Linked DNA regions of Homo sapiens: region 2 is linked to region 1. The links are contacts of gene promoters, found by promoter capture Hi-C in blood cells and fetal thymus (Javierre and others, 2016). All regions are on one chromosome and are shown on one strand. Each heading gives the region's core, a stretch centred on a gene start or on the middle of the fragment in contact. The rest is flanking DNA. Distances are from core to core; before and after follow the strand shown. Region 1 holds the start of IGSF6 (immunoglobulin superfamily member 6). Region 2 has its middle 52 kb from the start of LINC02890.

What was found. Contacts are between HindIII fragments. The CHiCAGO score rates a contact against its expected background, and 5 or more counts as called.
Region 2: a contact is called between a fragment that was not itself captured here and the fragment with the promoter of IGSF6 in region 1, in 1 of 17 cell types (erythroblasts). The highest score is 5.5, in erythroblasts.

What each region holds. Positions count from the first base shown.
Region 1 is chr16:21,650,836-21,654,331 of GRCh38, reverse strand. It overlaps IGSF6 (immunoglobulin superfamily member 6), which reads left to right and starts at 1,724. Exons shown (of 6, transcript NM_005849.4): 1 at 1,724-1,800. The coding sequence starts at 1,734. The region is part of intron 4 of METTL9 (methyltransferase 9, His-X-His N1(pi)-histidine); the gene reads right to left. The HindIII fragment of the contact is 3,735 bases long and covers 1-2,728 here.
Region 2 is chr16:22,663,952-22,667,236 of GRCh38, reverse strand. No RefSeq gene overlaps it. Among named protein-coding and RNA genes, the nearest start is that of LINC02890, 52 kb to the right of the region's middle. RefSeq lists an enhancer at 2,400-2,559. The HindIII fragment of the contact is 798 bases long and covers 1,303-2,100 here.

The sequences.
Region 1 (3,496 bases), core at 475-2,974:
GGCACATGCCTGTAATCCCAGCACTTTGGGAGGCCGAGGTGGGCGGATCACGAGGTCAGGAGATCAAGACCATCCTGACTAACACAGTGAAACCCCGTCTCTACTAAAAAAAATACAAAAAAATTAGCTGGGCATGGCAACATGCACCTGTAGTCCCAGCTACTTGGGAGGCTGAGGCAGGAGAATGGTGTGAACCCGGGAGGCGGAGCTTGCAGCGAGCCAAGATCGTGCCACTGCACTCCAGCCTGGGCGACAGAGCGAGACTCTGTCTCAAAAAAAAAAAAAAAAAAAAAAACAAAACAGACTGAGAATAACTTTCTGTTAATGAGAAAATATATCATGAGCAGATGCCAAGGGCACAGACATCATATCATGGTGGGGAGATTTTTCATAATTTTCAGTGGTGCAGATGACGCTCTTCCCATGTCTGGGGAATTGCCTGCCCAGAGTCTGGGAGAGACACAAGGCCTGGGAGCCGCTTTCCTGGCCTGCCGTGCAGCTGAGGCACTGGCACGCAGCCTAAGCCAGGCACACTTGCCCATGCCCTGGAATGGAGAGCCAGTGACCCAGAGTAGTGGGGATGTGAGCTTCTCCTTCTCTGGGGGTGGAGCAATGGCAGTGAGACCAAGGGGCTGGGGCAGTGGTTGAGCGATGCTGACAACAGGGCTGATGGCACCTAGTGTTTGGCAGTGGCAGTAGCATCCTCTTCAGACCTGTTTATGGTGTGATTTGAGGCATTCTTCCTGGCTGTGGACCCCACACAAGATTCACTAGCCCTCCCAGTGACTCTAGGATCTACCTTCAAATGTTTGCATAAATTTCCTTTTAAGTCAGCCTGAGTCTGTTTCTGCTGCTTTACAAAGAAGACCCTTACTGAATCACCACTAAGTGCTGGGGGAGAGGACACAGAGGACAGAGGGCCCACATATTTGTTTCTCAACACATTAAAAGGGGGTCTTTGGGCCAGGCATGGTGGCTCACACCTGTAATCCTAACACTTTGGGAGGCCAAGGCAGGGGGATCGCTTGAGGGCAGGACTAGCCTAGACAACACAGAATCTACAAAAAAAAAAAAAAATTAGCCAGGGGTGGTGGTGCATGCCTGTAGTCCCAGCTACTCAGGAAGCTGAGGCTGCAATGACCTGCAATCTTGCCACTGCATTCCAGCCTGGGTGATAGAGACCCTGTCAAAAAAGGGGGGAAGGCAGGTGTCTTTGGATTCAAAACTGGAGTACAAAAAGTTAATAACAGACAATTTATTTATTCGCTGCATTAGAATGTGTTGTTTACTAACTTTTCTCATCTCTACACAAAGCCACTTCTCCTTCTGCTGTTCTTTGTTCCCAGCAGTTACTGGCCCAGAGTGGCACCCAGAGCAGGTACCCTAGACAGTGACTGAACTGTTCTGAAAAATCCAAGTACGAATTATTTGTCAAACAATACTCCTTCCTGGAAATATGTGCTAGGTGTAAATCAAAATCTCACCCAGAAACATCTAACACCTATGACAACTGTAAAATCCATGGAAAAAAAAAAGATATGCACATTTCTAAATGTGCTCCAGGCCAAAATCTCAATGTTAAATGGTGAAGCCATCCTTGCACAATTTCAAAAAGTTCCTGATTATGGTTCCTTCATAAGAGGTTCCTCTCTTCAGCTCTTCTTCCCTTCTGAAAAAAGAAAGCCAACTTTCCTTTCAAATACACACCCCAACCCGCCCCGGCATACACAGAAATGGGGACTGCGAGCAGAAGCAACATCGCTCGCCATCTGCAAACCAATCTCATTCTATTTTGTGTCGGTAAGGTTCTTTTTCTTCTCCTCCTTCATTTTATTTAAATCAACTGCTATTTTTCACCTAATGCATTTATATTTTAAGCTCCTTCAGATTAATTTTTAAATGTATAACATTATGAAAACTGCCTAAGAGGATAAGTTTCCTTTTTCCCCTGAGAAATAGACAATAAAAAAATAGCTGAGAAAAAGTTTCATATTAACCTTGAAAAGTCTCTTTGCTATTATGCTAATTGGAGACAATCTGACCAAAGGGTTGAAAATATTCTTAAAATCGTAGGTATAAGTTATCAATAATTTAATTATCATACAAACTTGATCTGCACATAGAAAGCAATAAATGATTATTTGCTGAATATTTTCAAAGAACAATTTCTATAAAAGTACTTTTCATTTAAGAAAAAAAAAACTGCCATGACTCCAATAGCCATCCCATAGTATATCTATTTTTAAAATTCTGTCTACTTCTGTTTTTTTATCTATGAAAGAGAAAGGATTTCCAATACATCTAGTAATCTCAGATTTGCCCACACAATTTGGATTATAGGGCAGGGAAGGGGGGAAAGTTCTTAATTTTTTCTCATCTGTGAAGAAATATATCAAAATGTTAATGGGAGTTATTTCAGGCAAAAGGACTATGGGTGACTTTTTGCTTCTACTTTTAATAACCTGTTTTTTGCTAATAAGTATATATTACTTTCATAGACTATTTTAATTAGCATTATTTTAAAGAAGAATTCCTGTCTTTTAGAGATATATTCTGAAAGATGCAGATAAAATGGCTGGGATTTGCTCTAAAATAATATGGGAGTGAGGGAGTAGGTGGGAGGAGAAAAGAAACAAGATTGGGTCGAAGCCATGTGATGGCAGGGGGTTGACTGTACTACTTCGCTACTTTGATATGTTAGAAATTTGAAATCTAATATAATAAAGCTTTGGGCTGGGCGTGGTGGTTCATGCCTGTAATCCCAGCACTTTGGGGGCCAAGGTGAGAGGATCACTTGAGCTCAGGAGTTCAAGACCAGCATGAACAACATAATGAGACCCCCATTTCTACACAAGAAAAAAAAATAGCTGGGCGTGATGGCACCTGCACTGCACCTGCAGTCCCACCCACCTGGGAGGCTGAGGCAGGAGGATCACTTGAGCCCAGGACTTTCAGGCTATAGGGAGCTGTGATTGTGCCACTGCACTCCAGCCTGGGCAACAGAGCAAGACATTTACTTACTTCTTACTTACTAGATAGAGAGACAGCTTTGTTTAAATGTCAAGAATTAGTTCTCTTCCTACTTTCAATATGGCTTTTTTGTTTGTTTGAGACGGAGTCTCGCTCTGTCACCCAGGCTGGAGTGCAGTGGCAAGATCTCGGCTCACTGCAAGCTCCGCCTCCCGGGTTCACGCCATTCTCCTGCCTCAGCCTCCCGAGTAGCTGGGACTACAGGCATCTGCCACCACACCCGGCTAATTTTTTGTATTTTTAGTAGAGACAGCGTTTCACCGTGTTAGCCAGGATGGTCTCGATCTCCTGACCTCGTGATCCGCCCGCCTCGGCCTCCCATAATGCTGGGATTACAGGCATGAGCCACCATGCCCAGCCTCAATATGGTTTTTTAAAATAATAAGAATAATCTTTCTATTCCCTCCATGGAGGAAATAAATCTTCAACCTTTTCATTGGATACTGTGTTTAAAAAACAATTCCTA
Region 2 (3,285 bases), core at 452-2,951, 1.0 Mb before region 1:
TAACTGTAATCCTCATATATTGATGGTAGGAATGTAAAATTGTGCAGCCACTTTTGAAAACAATTGGGCAGTTTTTTAAGTTATGCACCAAATATCCAGCAATTCCACTCATAAGTATTTAATCAAGATTCAAATGCAGGATATATCAGGGCAAAGACATATATCCAATTGCTCAAAGCAGCATTATTCATAACAGCCAAAAAAAGTGGACAATCCAAATTCAAATTCATCTAAATCCATCAATTAGTGAATGGGTAAACAAAATGTGGTGTATACATAAAGCAATAAAAACGAATAAACTATACATACTTAAAACAACATAGATCAGCCGGGCATGGTGGCTCATGCCTGTAATCCCAGCACTTTGGGAGGCCGAGGCGGACGGATCATGAGCTCAGGAAATCAAGACCATACTGGCCAACATGGTGAAATCTCATGTCTACTAAAAATACAAAAATTAGCTGGGTGTGGTGGCACGCGCCTGTAGTCCCAGCTACTCGGGAGGCTGAGGCAGGAGAATTGCTTGAACCCGGGAGGCAGAGGCTGCAGTGAGCCGAGATCGTGCCACTGCACTCCAGCCTGGCGACAGAGTGAGACTCCGTCTCAAAAAATAAATAAATAAATGAACAACATAGATTAATCTCAAAAACATTATGTTAAGTGAAAGAAGACAGACATATAAGACTATATATTGTATGATTCCATTTACATGAAATTTCTAGAAAAAGGGAAACAGTAGAGATGGTAACCACATTGGTGGTTGCCTGGAGCTGGAGGTTGGAGTTGGGATTGACTATAAATGGAAATGAGAAAACTTTTGGGAGAGATGGAAGTTTTCTAAAACTGGATTGTAGAGATAATTGTGGCATTATATGAATTTGCTAAAACTCATCGAACTGTACATTTTAAACGGGTGAATTTTAATGTATGTAAATTATACCTCAATAAAGCTGTTAAAAAATAAATAATAAACCATGAAAAAATAAGCAAGAGAAAAGAGGAAACCATGATGCTGTTAGATTGGGGATTATATGGTTTGGATATTTGTCCCCTCCAAGTCTCATGTTGAAATGTGATCCCCAGTGTTGGAGTGGGACCTGGTGCGATGTGTTTGGGTCATGGGGGTGGATCCCTGATGAATGGCTTGGTGCCCGCCTTGCAGTAATAAGTGAGTTCTTGCTCTTAGTTCACATGAGATCTGGTTGTTTAAAAGAGTCTGGCACCTCCCCCTCTCTCTCTTGCTCCCTCTCTTGCCATGTGACACATGGGCTCCCCCTTCGCCTTTCGCCATGATTGGAAGCTTCCTGAGCTCCAAGACAGCACCATGCTTCCTGTACAGCCTGCAAAACTGTGAGCCAAAATAAACCCCTTTTCCTTATAAATTACCCAGACCCCAGACTTAGGCATTTCTTTACAGCAATGCAAAGCAGACTAACACAGGGGGAAAGGATGCTGGACTGGGAGAGAAAAACACTCACATATATTACCCATTTTTACACATTAGGAAAATAAGAAACAATGACTTGCCCTATGTCACCCAGCTAGTAAGTGGGGGAGCCCAGATGCAAACTCCCAACTCTTTGGCCCCAAACGCATGCTCTTAACCCCTCCGCCATGTGATCTTTCTTCCCTTTTGCACAGCCTCTCACCAGTCAGCCCCACTGTATGTAGGGAGACCATGAGGGACTCTTCTCACATTGCTACGTGAGCAGAATCCTCATCTGTCTGACATCTGCTGAAAACACAAGCAAAAGACACTCTGAGGCCTGATGTCTTCCGACGGTTCATTGAAGTTGCAGTTGTTACTTTCCCTTGAACTGTGCAAACGCTTGGTGTGCTCGGGTTGATTTGGTGCTTTTTGTATATTGCTCATCTGGCAGAGAATTACTACTCTGCTCTACAAGTTCCCACAGATGGCTTTATTTTCCATTGCTATTAAATTGGTTTTGAACAAGACATAATTCTTCAAGTGCCTGGTGTGCTCTCTGGGTTTGCTCAGGCAAGATTCCATAAAAATGTAAATAATCGGAACACTTCTGGGATTATTTATCACAACTGACTTGTGGCTGTAAATTTATGTATTAATTTCAGCTATAAGCTTCAGTGGGGAAAAGATGAACCATTGAAAATAGTCTCTTCCACCCTAACATCCTCGCTATGTCCCCATTTCCCCTCTGCTTCCAGGGAACGTACCAGAGAATGGCTCACACATCTGGGTCTGAACGACATTGAACAGGCTCGAAAAGGAACCAGGTGGTAAGTGGGGAATAATCACTCCTCAGCAACCCACAGGCTCATCACTTACTGCTCTCCCCTGGGTCTTCGGACCCCAGTCACACCAGCCTTTCACTTGCTCCTGTGGATTCCTGCCCCAGGACCCTTGCACATGCACCCCAGGCTTGTAATGCTCCTTCTTCCCTTTTATGCCTGGTTCACTCTTACTCATCCTTCAGCTCTTGGCTCAGCGTCACTTGTTTGGAGAAGCTTCATCCCCGCCCACCTGCTAGACGAGGTCTCCTCCCAGGTGTTCTTCTCATCCACAGCGCTACTCACAATCACAGTTCCTCATTTTGGGAGGATTTTTAAAACTTAATGTCTGTCTCCCCTACTTGGCTGTAAAAATTTCATGAGGGTTAGGGCTGTGTCTTTGTCGCCTGCATGCCCAGAGCCTGGCACAGAGTTGAAGATGGATGAATGTGTGCAGAACAAACTAATGGATCCACTTGGAATAAGAGCACATAGCAGGGCTCTTGGGGCCTCTGCCCACACGCACTCAGACCACGCTCTGCACACAGCTCCTTGTGTGCTTTCTCTTAGCCAGCACCTGCATGTTGGCAGAGGGCTGCTCTCACTTTGCCTGTGTGTGCTGAGACTGGAGTGCCTGGGAATTTGCACTCCCCTTGGAGGCCAGCCCTTAACCAATTAGTGGTGAAGGCAGGCTTAGAAGCATGCCAGCTGGCCGGGTGGAATGGCTCATGCCTGTAATCTCAACACTTTGGGAGGCCAAGGCAGGAGGATCACTTGAGGCCAGGAGTTCAAATCCAGCCTGGGCAACACAGCAAGACCCTATCTCTACAAAAAAAAAAAATTAAAAATAGCCGGACATGGTGGTGAGTGCCTATAGTCCCAGCTATTTGGGAGGCTGAGGCAAGAGAATTGCTTGAGCTCAGGAGTTTGAGGCTGCAGTGACCTATGATCGCACCATTGCAGTCCAACCTTGGTGACAGAGCAAGCCCCTGTCTCTGAAACATCACGCCAGCTCTCTTGTCTTGATCGGAAAACTGC